Regions from separate parts of the Homo sapiens genome. Here region 2 is linked to region 1. Evidence: promoter capture Hi-C in 16 types of primary human blood cells and fetal thymus (Javierre and others, 2016). All regions are on one chromosome and are shown on one strand. The core of a region is centred on a gene start or on the middle of the fragment in contact, and the rest is flanking DNA. Distances in the headings are between cores, read along the strand shown.

Region 1 (5,370 bases), core at 1,770-4,269:
TTCCTGACCTCAAGTGATCCGCCCACCTCGGCCTCCCAAAGTGCTGGGATTACAGGTGTGAGCCACTGCGCCCAGCCCTAAAAACTTTATTATGGAGGATTTTATACCCATACAGAATTAGGATTGTATAGGGAAACTCTATGTCTCCATCACTCAGGCCCAATATCCATCAACCTTTGGTCAATTCTGCCCCATCCTCCTCCCCATCCCGTTTATTCTGAAGCAAATCTCAGGAATCATATTATTTCACTCGTAAATGTTTCAGTGTCTAAGACAAGAAATTTAAAAATCATACCTCAAAAAATTTCTTAATATCAGATATCCTGTCAGTGTTCAAATTTCTACTCATCTCAATTATCATAAGTGGTTTCTTTTTTTAAAAAATCAGAATCTAAATAAAGCTCAGACATTGCAATTGGTTGATGACTTTTAAATCTCTTAATTTATCTCCACCCTCACCACTTGCTACTTACTTGTTGAAGAAACCAGGTTGTTTGTAGATTTTCCCCATAGTCTGGATTTTGCTGATTGCATCCAGAACTGGAAAGTGTGAAAGCATATTAGAGGAAATGAAAAGGCTCTGCCGATCGAGAACTCTGGTTATACAACTGTTCACAAGCACTTAGCAGGAACAACGAGGAATGCTAAAATTCTTATCACTGTGCCCTCTTATGTGGTGCCTGCCTCATGGTGATCTTAATGTTCTCCTAAAGATAGGGAAGAACAGGACCCTAGACCACAGTCTTGTGCTTGGGAGCTACACTTGGACAGGAATCACCACCCAAAACTGGCAATGCAGACAGATTACATGTGTTTTCTTCCGCAGATTTGTTCTGATCTCCCCAGACATCCGTCATTCTATAATCCTACAGTTTGGACCTTCTTAGTTTTCACTTTCAGGTGGGAAAGACTAGTAATTAATTAATTAATTAATTAATGCTTTTATAGAGACAGGGTCTGGCTCTGTCACCTAGGCTGGAGAGTAGTGGTTGCAATCACAGCTCACTGCAGCCTCAAACTCCTGGGCTGAAGTGATACTCTCAACCCCAGCCTCCTGAGTAGCTGGAACCACAGGTGTGCACCACCATGCCCAGCTAATTTTTAAAAAAAAATTTGTAGAGATGGTGTCTCCCTATGTTGCCCAGGCTGTGTTGAACTCTTGGGCTCAAGTGATCCTCCCACCTCTGCCTCCCAAAGTGCTGGGATTACAGGCTTGAGGCACAGCACCCAGTCAAGAGGTTTTTGGGTTTTGTTTGTTTTTTGAGACGGAGTCTCACTCTTGCCCAGGCTGGAGTGCAGTGGAACAATCTTGGCTCACTGCAACCTCTGCCTCCCGGATTCAAACAATTCTCCTGCCTCAGCCTCCCGAGTAGCTGGGATTACAGGCGCACACCACCATACCTGGCCAAGAGTAGTTATTTTGGAAAGAGAGACGTTTCAATCTTCAGAACATATCTTTGGCCGGGTGCGGTGGCTGGTGCCTGTAATCCCAGCACTCTGGGAAGCCAGGCTGGGAGGATCACTTGAGCCCAGGAGTTCAAGACTAGACTGGGCAAGCAACATGGTGAAACCCCATCTCTACAAAAAAATACAAGTATTAGCCAGGTTGTGGTGGCATACCCTGCAGTCCTAGCTATTTGGGAGGCTGAAGTGGGAGGATCACTTGAGCCTGGGAGGTTGAGGTTGCAGAGAGCTGTGATTGTGTCTCTGTACTCTACCCTAGGCAATGGAGCAAGACTCTGTCTCCAAAAAAAAAAAAAAAAAATTTATCTTTGAATTCTTTCTTTCAATATATTGTTATCTGTATTTCTGTACTGAGTGCTGTGCTTCTTGACCTGTCTCTGCCCTTTTCTGTGTATTTATTTATTTAATTGACAAGTAAAAATTGTATATATTATGGTATACAAATACAGCTTGATGTTTTAATTTATGTATACATTGTGGAATTATTAAGTCAAGCTATTTGACTTAATTGCCCCATATACTTGTCATTTTTTGGGGGTGATAAAGACACTTAACATCTACTGTCTTAGCAATTTTCGATACACGATATATTGTTATTAACTATAGATAGCATGCTGTACAATGGGAGCTCTTAAACTTATTCCTCCTGGGCCAGGCGCAGTGTCTCACGCCTATAATCCCAGCACATTGGGAGGCCAAGGTGGGCGGATCACTTGAGGTCAGGAATTCAAGACCAGCCTCACCAACATGGTGAAACCCCATCTCTACTGAAAATACAAAAATTAGCCAGGCTTAGTGGTGGGCGCTTGTAATCTCAGCTACTTGGGAGGCTGAGGCAGAAGCTTGAACCAGGGAGGTGGAGGTTGCAGTGAGCTGAGATGATGCCACTGCACTCCAGCCTGGGTGACAGAGCAAGACTCTGTCTCAAAAAAAAAAAAGAAAAAAAGAAATGCTGTGAGGAATTATTAGCCATGAAGCTTCAGCAGGCAGGTTAGGTAGCTTTTCCAGTCACATACTGGTGAAGTAAGGATTTGAACCCCAAGACTCTGGTGCCAGAGTAATTGCTCTTCACCATGAGGAGGCACCAGTGGGGGAGTGTTGGATCACAAGCAGTTTCTTTTTCTTTTTTTTTTGTTTTTTTGAGACGGAATCTGGCTCTGTCACCTAGTCTGGAGGGCAGCGGCGAGCTCAGCTCACTACAACCTCTGCCTCTCAGGTTCAAGCGTTCTCCTGCTTCAGCCTCACGAGTAGCTGGAATTACAGGCGCCCGCCACCATGCCTGGCTAATTTTTATATTTTTAGTAGAGATGGGGTTTCGCCACGTTGACCAGGCTGGTCTCAAACTCCTGACCGCAAGTGATCCACCCACCTCAGCCTCTCAAAGTGCTGGGATTAGAGGCATGAGCCACTGCACCCAGCGCAATTTCGTTAGAGACTTGGTGCCTTCCCATTTCTTTTACTCAGCAATATACCAGCTTTAGGTCCTAAATTAAACCTCTTCCTGCTTTCCCACCTGATGAAGAAACGTGCCTGCAGTGTGGTGAGTCTGGACCACGCAGACTCAGAACAGCACTACTCACAGCAGGGCCTCTTGCTCGCTCTAGCTGCTGGGAGGAAAACGGCTTGCTAATCTCCACGCCCAGAAATTCAGACAAGAGCATTCTCCTTATCTCATCTGCACAGGAAGCAGGTCTAAGGTAAAAGATTATTTTTGTGGAAGATTCTTGCTTTTCAGTCTAGTGGTTGAAGTGTGAGCCTGGCAGGCGTTGGATTAGAGAGGGCAACAAGAGTGGAGGTTGTGAGGTGGGGGGTTGCCTTGGGGCTTCCACTCTAAAATGTGGCCTTACCTTGGCCACAAAGGGGTCGGGGGGGTGGGGGAGAGAGAGAGAGAGAGAGAGAGGGAGAGAGCAGCCTGATCATAGCTCGGAGCGTAGAGGTTCTGGTAAGTTCCTTGCCCTAAAGAACACTTAGTTCATTCTGGCTCCTTTCCTGGTGACCATCCTGGCTTCCTGCTTGGCCTTCACCTCACCTTGAGAAATTCAAGTTTCATGTTCTTGTCCAGGCCAAAGACCCAGAAGAACCTTCAAGGTGAGGCTTGGCCCCTTAGATCCACGCCGTGATTTCGCTTCTTTTTCCTGAAGCCTGCACAGATGCCAGTGTAAGCCCACTCCCAGGAAGTCACAGCAGTGGTCTATGCTCCTCCTCTTCACACTGGCCAGTGCTGGGCATGCCTGGACAATCAGCCCTGGAATGGCTGCTCTCAGCCTACAGAAGAAGAGAGGGAAGAGGGATGGAGGGGCTGGGGAGAAGTTGGTGAGAGGACACAAAATTTGGGTTAGACAGAGAAATAAAGTTTTTTTTGTTTTTTGTTTTTTTCTGAGATGGAGTTTCACTCTGTCACCCAGGCTGGAGTGCAGTGGTGTGATCTCAGCTCACTGCAACCTCCACCTCCCACTTGGCTTCCCAAAGTGCTGCGATTACAGGCATGAGCCACCGCTCCCCAGCCTCCTCATGGGATTTTTGAGGATGACATAAAGGAATACATTTAAACTGCCTAGAAGGGTGCTTGGCCCAGAGTATGTGCTAATTAACGTTGGCTACTATTATTTTCCTTCAACCCAGTGCCGGTGCAGGTCTAGAGGAAAGCATGAGGTGATACAGGGGCACCCAGAGGCGGAGTGCTCCCAGGAGCTGAGGGGCATCGGAGGCTTCCCTGGAGGACTGGCACCTGAGCAGAGGAATGGGCAGCACAGTGGCAGTGCCACGTGTGCGGCACAGATGGTGCAGAGGGGATGGGTGGGCACACTGCGGGGAGTTTAGATTTAGCCAGGGGATGGCAGGGCCTGTCCAGGAGGTTAAGTGAGGAGCTCAGGTGTGCCTCCCAGCAGGCAGGGGAGGCTAATTTTGAAGAAGAGCAAAGTAGGTGCAGGAGGTGAGTTGGGATCTCATGCAGTAATTCAGGCCAGAAGTGACAAGGGCCTGAACTATGGCGCTAGGGTTGAGGAGGAAGGAACAGAGAGTGAGGAGATACAACCTGGCAACTGATTGCATGAGAGAGAGAGAGGGGCCAGGAATAGCATCATACTCAGGTTTCTGGCCATGCAGTTGGGTGAATGAGGGTATTGCTGTTGACTGGAGCAGCAAAAAAAGGGGATCCCCTCTGGGGTAGAGGAAGAAGGGAGCAGGGGATTGGAAAATGCCAAAATCAGTTTGCTGTGGTTTGGAATCTGAGACTCTGATGTGTTACCTAAGTGGAGATGTCCTGTGGTCAGTTTATTTATACTCTCCTGGGTCCTAGGTAGGATTTAAGGTGACATATGAAGATAACACAAAGTAGAGTAAGATATTATAAATTAAGTAGGAGAGAAAGCAGACAGAAAAGAACGAGATGTAAAGTAGAGGAAGGAATGAGGTTAAATATAAAGTACACAGCAGAAAGCAGAAGTCACAAGCTGGCCAGCATTCGCTGAATTTCCTGTTTGAGTTGTCCTGCAGTCTTATGTTTGTCTGTTGGGTTTTGGTGGGTTTTGTTTGTTTGTCTTGAGTTGCAGTCTTAAAATCCAGGAATTCTTAAAAATTAAAATTTCTCACTTTTTCTTTTAAAAAAAAAAAAAGTGAAGTTCTGGGAGCTCTGAGCCATATCCCATCTGGCAACGATGATCTGGGTCTGAGAAGCAGTCTCGCCTTCTTGGGAGAGCACGGGCTCTCCAATTTCCCACTGGCCTCCACTCCACTTGGCTGTCTGGCACTGAAGCAGTGTCGGTCCTCTTATCAGCATGGACTATTTCTCTGAACTCACCCTTCTATCAAATGTAATAAAAAAAATTAGTCAAGATATTTTTTTTTTCTTAGTCTCAATTTTGCCTGTTTACACTAGCAGCCTGGCCGTGGAAGCAGGCTGATGCT
Region 2 (5,370 bases), core at 1,718-4,217, 360 kb after region 1:
AATGATTTCAGTTAAACCATTTCCCCTCCACTTGCACACTTCTGCAAGTTTCAGCAGCCAGATCTGTTCCAGCAATGGGGGCAGGTTGCACATTCCCACTGAGAACACTTGGTGGAGATTATAAGGACACATTATTTTTTTCTTTCACTAAGCCAGAATTGGCAGTTGAAGATGTGTTTGAGCTACTGTCTGCTCTGGGAATGGGAAGAAAACTGTATACCTAGTGCATTTCCCCTTCTATCTTCTATTCCAACAAAGAAGTTGCAGTCAATGAAAGTCACTGGTCCTAATATGAACTGTTCAGTTAACCCACTAAAGCAGCCTAGTCCTATTCACTAGCTACCTTGAGGTCACCTACTCTTTCAAGGCTTAATTATTCTTATTTTTTAATGTAGAAAGTTCAACCTAAATTTGTTTCTGGGTGACTTCTAGCTTCATGATTCAGCTCCTAATGTTCTCCACCAGAAGATTGGTTGTAATTTCTGTTTCATCACAGTCTTCTTGCCTTTCAAAGCCTCAGTGAGTGACTGGTGCTTTTTTCTGGGTGGTTTCATTGCATTCCTAGAGAAAACTCTGAAAAAGTAGACATGTGTCATGAGAATATGCATGGCTGTAAATTTCAGTATGTGAAGGCTGTCATTGATAGCTCCATGAAAGGTAATGACTGAAATGCTATATGCATTATCACAGGTAAGCTTTAGGAATCATTAAACCCTGACTTGAACGTTACATCAGGGACTAGTATAGAGACTAGTGTTTTTGCAATTTAACTCTGATGTTGTTTTCCCAGGTCCTAAATTGTCCTTTGGAAGTAGAGCAGATGGTTGCTATGAGGCTTAGTTTTAAATGAATGACTGTCCCCATATCTCAGTCTCAGCCATTTAATGTGGTGTTCTTACAGGCATGGATGGGACAAGGAAACATGGATCTCAGCAGCCTGGAAGGGAACTGTGGGTGGAGGCTATGATGCCAGGAAAGGACTTACTCCTCCAGCTACTGGGAGTGCTGCCAGCAGAAAGCCCTTGGCTCAGCTGACATCTCCTAGGGGCAGTGCCTCAGCTGAAGAGAGCCACCTTGCCCAAGGTCGCTGAGGTGGCCTGCATGTAAAGACTGGTCCATGCTGGGGTATAAAGGCCCACCAGAACAACTCAGAACCCAGCCCCAACTCAGAACAACTCTGAAGCATCATCCCACCTTCAGAATCCTCCCTGCAGGGATGCCTGAGGCTTGGTCAATTTCTCCCTCTGCTCAAGCTTGCCTCCCTCCATTCCCTCCCTTTATTTCCTCCCACAAATGTTGACTACAAGAGCACTTCCTAAAAAGCCTCCCTCTGCCTGCTAAACACCATCTCAGAATCTGCTTCTAGGAGGACCCAACCTGTGCAGAAATTTTATGAGCAATTTGCCTGTCCATTAAAAAATACAGCATAGACTTTTTCCAGGTTAGCTGGAGATGGAGTTTTTTTGTATCAAAAAAAGAGAGCTAAACTGAGAAGAGAAGCAAAGGTAGAAGAATAAGGTTAGACTCTCCCTGTATAACTGAATTTGGGATTGGGAATGATATCTTGCTTCTCTATGAAATTTAGAAACTGTCTTTTGAAGTCTTCATCCAGTCACATCCAAGAGTGGTCCAGGAAGAAAAAGGAAAATAAGAATGAAAAAAAAACAAAAAACAAACCTTAAAATTGGATACTTCTTTGTGCCTTGCATTAAGCCTCTATGTTACTGCCCTTGTCCGTATAAGCAACTCTAGATAAAATCCTTTCTTAGACCATCTAATTTATCTCCCCGTGCCATTGTGAAAATCGGGCAGGAATTACTGCGGGAACCAGTGACTGAATGGGCAGTGGTGTCTCGCAGCTGTAACTCAGAGTTTACAAGGGAAGGATGAACAGCAGCCATCCTTCTAAAGGCATTCTTCCTCTCCTCCAGCACAGCTCAGTCTGTGCATGCCTCACCAAGGAGAATGAGGGAAGGCCTTGTTGACTGCCCAGCCCAGAGTGTGAGGAACAGCAGTTGACATGGGCGGCTGGACGGGATAGAAACCAGCATGAACATTTAGTGACACCTAAGGAAGAGGTGAAAATGGGGGAGAAAGCCAAGAACCATCAGACAGCTTCTTTCTGTTCTTGCCTTGGATCTTAGGGGAACGTATGTGTTCAAGGGTGCCTTCCTCCGCAGGGCCTCCCATCCCTTGGCACAAACTTCCAAACGATGAGTAGACATGGAATGGGCTTCTTCTGAAGACTGGGTCACCATCCAACTCAGCCTTCGGAGTAGGCGGTGGGGCTGGGGGAAGAGGACGGAACCATGAGGTCTCTCCATCACTTCCCGGGTGTGTTGAGAGGCAAGCAAATGCGGTGGGTGGGCCTGGGCTGTAGGGCCCCTGCCATTTCGGGAGGGGCCTCCTGGTGTTTAGCTCTGGGATGTGTGAAAATGTGTTGGTGAAAAGCGAGAGGCTTACACAGCCCTTCAGGGGAAGAGGGGCTGGGGCGCTGGGGGCGGCGTCGGGATGAGTGCAGAAGAGACGAGGCCTCTGGACAGCGGAGGAGGAGGGGAGGGCGCCGAGGCGCGGTGCCAGCTGCCGCGCACAGGGGCCCCGCGGCGGAGCCGAGCCGCGGGCACGCTCTGCCCTGTCGGGAGAGCTCCGGGAGCGGCGGGAGGGGCGGAGGGGCGCAGTGGGGCCCGGGCGGCTGCGGCCGCGGAGCCGGGGCACCTGAGGAGGAAGGAGGGTGGGAGCGAGGGAGGGAGGGGACGGGCGCAGACCGAAAGTGGGGAAAGAAGGTGCAGGCAGGCGGGCAGGCGGGCGGGCGCCCTGGCCCAGGGCCGCGGGTGCGGGAGCCCGGCGAGGTCGAGCTGGGCGGCGGCGGGGGCCGCGCCGAGGGAGGAGGGGAAGGCGGAGGCGCGGGGAGCGTGTTTGGGGCGCCGCGGCGGGGAGGGTGGCGGCCGCTGGTGCGCGCGGGGCGCTGTGTATGCGCGCTCCCCCGCTCGGGGAGGAAGATGGCCCAAAAGGGAAAGTTGGGGTGACGCGCGCGGTCCCCGGAGGCTCGGCGGGGGGCACCGCGGCCAGCCCGACGGAGCGGCGGACACACAGGCCGGGGGGCGCGCAGTCCGGGCGCCGCCGCGGCCGCCCCCTCACTGCAGGTGGCAGCGGGTGCGCTGGGTCCCGGCGGCCGCGGGCGCGGGCGGGCGCGCGGGGGAGCCCGGCCGAGGGATGGGCTGCGCCCCCAGCATCCATGTCTCGCAGAGCGGCGTGATCTACTGCCGGGACTCGGACGAGTCCAGCTCGCCCCGCCAGACCACCAGCGTGTCGCAGGGCCCGGCGGCACCCCTGCCCGGCCTCTTCGTCCAGACCGACGCCGCCGACGCCATCCCCCCGAGCCGCGCGTCGGGACCCCCCAGCGTAGCCCGCGTCCGCAGGGCCCGCACCGAGCTGGGCAGCGGTAGCAGCGCGGGTTCCGCAGCCCCCGCCGCGACCACCAGCAGGGGCCGGAGGCGCCACTGCTGCAGCAGCGCCGAGGCCGAGACTCAGACCTGCTACACCAGCGTGAAGGTAAATGCCCCGCGCTGGCACACGCCGTGGGGGCCGTCCGCCCCGTCGGCGGGGCTCGCACGGGTAGGGGGCTCCGGCGGAGTTGGGTGACCGTGAGGCGGTTGGTTTGGAGAGGTTGTCACTAAGGAGGAGTTTACTTTTCATTTGTGGAGATGATGGGAGCCCAGGAAATGTGGTCAGAAAAAGGCCCCTGGAGGGGTCCTGGAAGCGTCCTTAGCTGGTCCTGGGGGACTGGGCGGGGAAGGGAGCGCAGAAGGAAGCAGGTGGGCTGGCCTGTTCCTCCTTGAGGGCAGGAAGGCTGTGGCTTGGTTTATGCAGGAAGAGGGGTGGGGACCATTGAGAGCATTCGGTGGCCAGTCCTGTTGAATGAAATCTGAGCACTGAGCTGGATTTGCGTGCCTTGTAGGTGACTGGTGCAGTTGCAGCACCAGGATAGATAGTGCCCCATATTCCGATTTTTACCTGGGATTACCAGCCAGGCTGGAGTCTCAGCACAGGAACCGAGCGTAGGGATTTGTGAATGAATGAGTGTTCGTGTTTTAAGAGATGTGGGAACGGAGCAGAGTGGAACCTGTTGTTTGTCACTGTAACGTTTCTCTGGGTTGGCTGCATCCTAGACAGAATTGAGAGAACCGGGCCATGAGTTCGGAGTGTCAGCAGAGCCACCGTGAGGGGACGTGGTTTCCAGTGCAGTACAGCTGTCTGAGGATGATTCTGCACATACAACTGATCTTCCCAGAGAGTGGGATTTTGAGGAAGTGGAAAAAATTGTTTAGATGGTTAAAGCAGTCGCTAAATATTTATTTCTTAAAGACAGAAGAAAAATAATTATTTAAATAGTGTCCTCCCGTATGTTCTCAAAGTACCGTTAAATCCAAGAGGCTTTTCATTGTGTAAATCTGGGCACTGGGTCTTTTTTCCTTTCAGCAAACAAGATAACAATGGCATATCCTATTGTACAGAGAGAAAAAAATACTCCTAATGTCAGATAGAATCACAGCCTTTACCTGGTCAATAGGTTACCAAGAACCATTCCATGGATTATTTGTCAAAGACACATTTGTATTTTTAATAGTTAAAAACTTGGTCTTCATTGGATGAAGGCAGCCCACAGTGGAGGAGTGAGGAGAAGGATAACATGTTTTGGCTTCAATCTGGAAGTCCAAAAGTTTTTTAATGAACCTATTTTTTTTTTAACAGCATCTGATTGTTTAACATGAAGCTTGACTGATGTTTGCTTGTGGTTGCAGTGTTTCTCTGGCAGTAATCATAATCACCATTATAGTAAAAACATCGTTTATTGAGCACCTACTATGTGCCAGGAGTAAGCTTTCTCTCCTAACTATTGAATGTTAACAGTGTGATCTTAGCATAGCATGTCTGAAGACTAGAGTCTAGGATTTATGACAGTACAAACCTACCAGTTGCCCATTCGTTACAGAGGCATGTGCTGAACGCTATACTTTGCTTTTGTCAAGCTCTCTCTCTCTCCCCCTCCCTGTTCACACAAAGTTAGCTTTAGGAGCAATTTTCAGGGATGAAAATGTTAAATTTGGTGAAAATATTAAGTTGGGATATTATCAGTAAAGACCATCCTTTTGCCTGACGGTTGAAGACCTGAAGCAGTAGTTCAAAATTGTGACAGCTCATGAACTTTGTGATACTTTTTTTGGTTGCTCCAGAGAAATTGTGAATTTTTGTTTTCTAGAATATCTATAATCTCAGTTTAGTACTTGGCAACTCTAGCTACTCCATGTTTGTTCAGTAGAAGAAAGAATACTGAATGAACCCATTCTGTACATTTTTAATACTTCCCTC

What was found. Contacts are between HindIII fragments. The CHiCAGO score rates a contact against its expected background, and 5 or more counts as called.
Region 2: the fragment with the promoter of PDE8B here is called in contact with the fragment with the promoter of S100Z in region 1 in 5 of 17 cell types (fetal thymus, erythroblasts, monocytes and 2 more); the score reaches 9.2 in fetal thymus.

The regions. Positions count from the first base shown.
Region 1 is chr5:76,846,995-76,852,364 of GRCh38, forward strand. S100Z (S100 calcium binding protein Z) reads left to right here and starts at 3,020. Exons shown (of 5, transcript NM_130772.4): 1 at 3,020-3,161. The HindIII fragment of the contact is 3,987 bases long and covers 2,440-5,370 here.
Region 2 is chr5:77,207,713-77,213,082 of GRCh38, forward strand. PDE8B (phosphodiesterase 8B) reads left to right here and starts at 2,968. Exons shown (of 22, transcript NM_003719.5): 1 at 2,968-3,552. The coding sequence starts at 3,214. The HindIII fragment of the contact is 3,521 bases long and covers 1,252-4,772 here.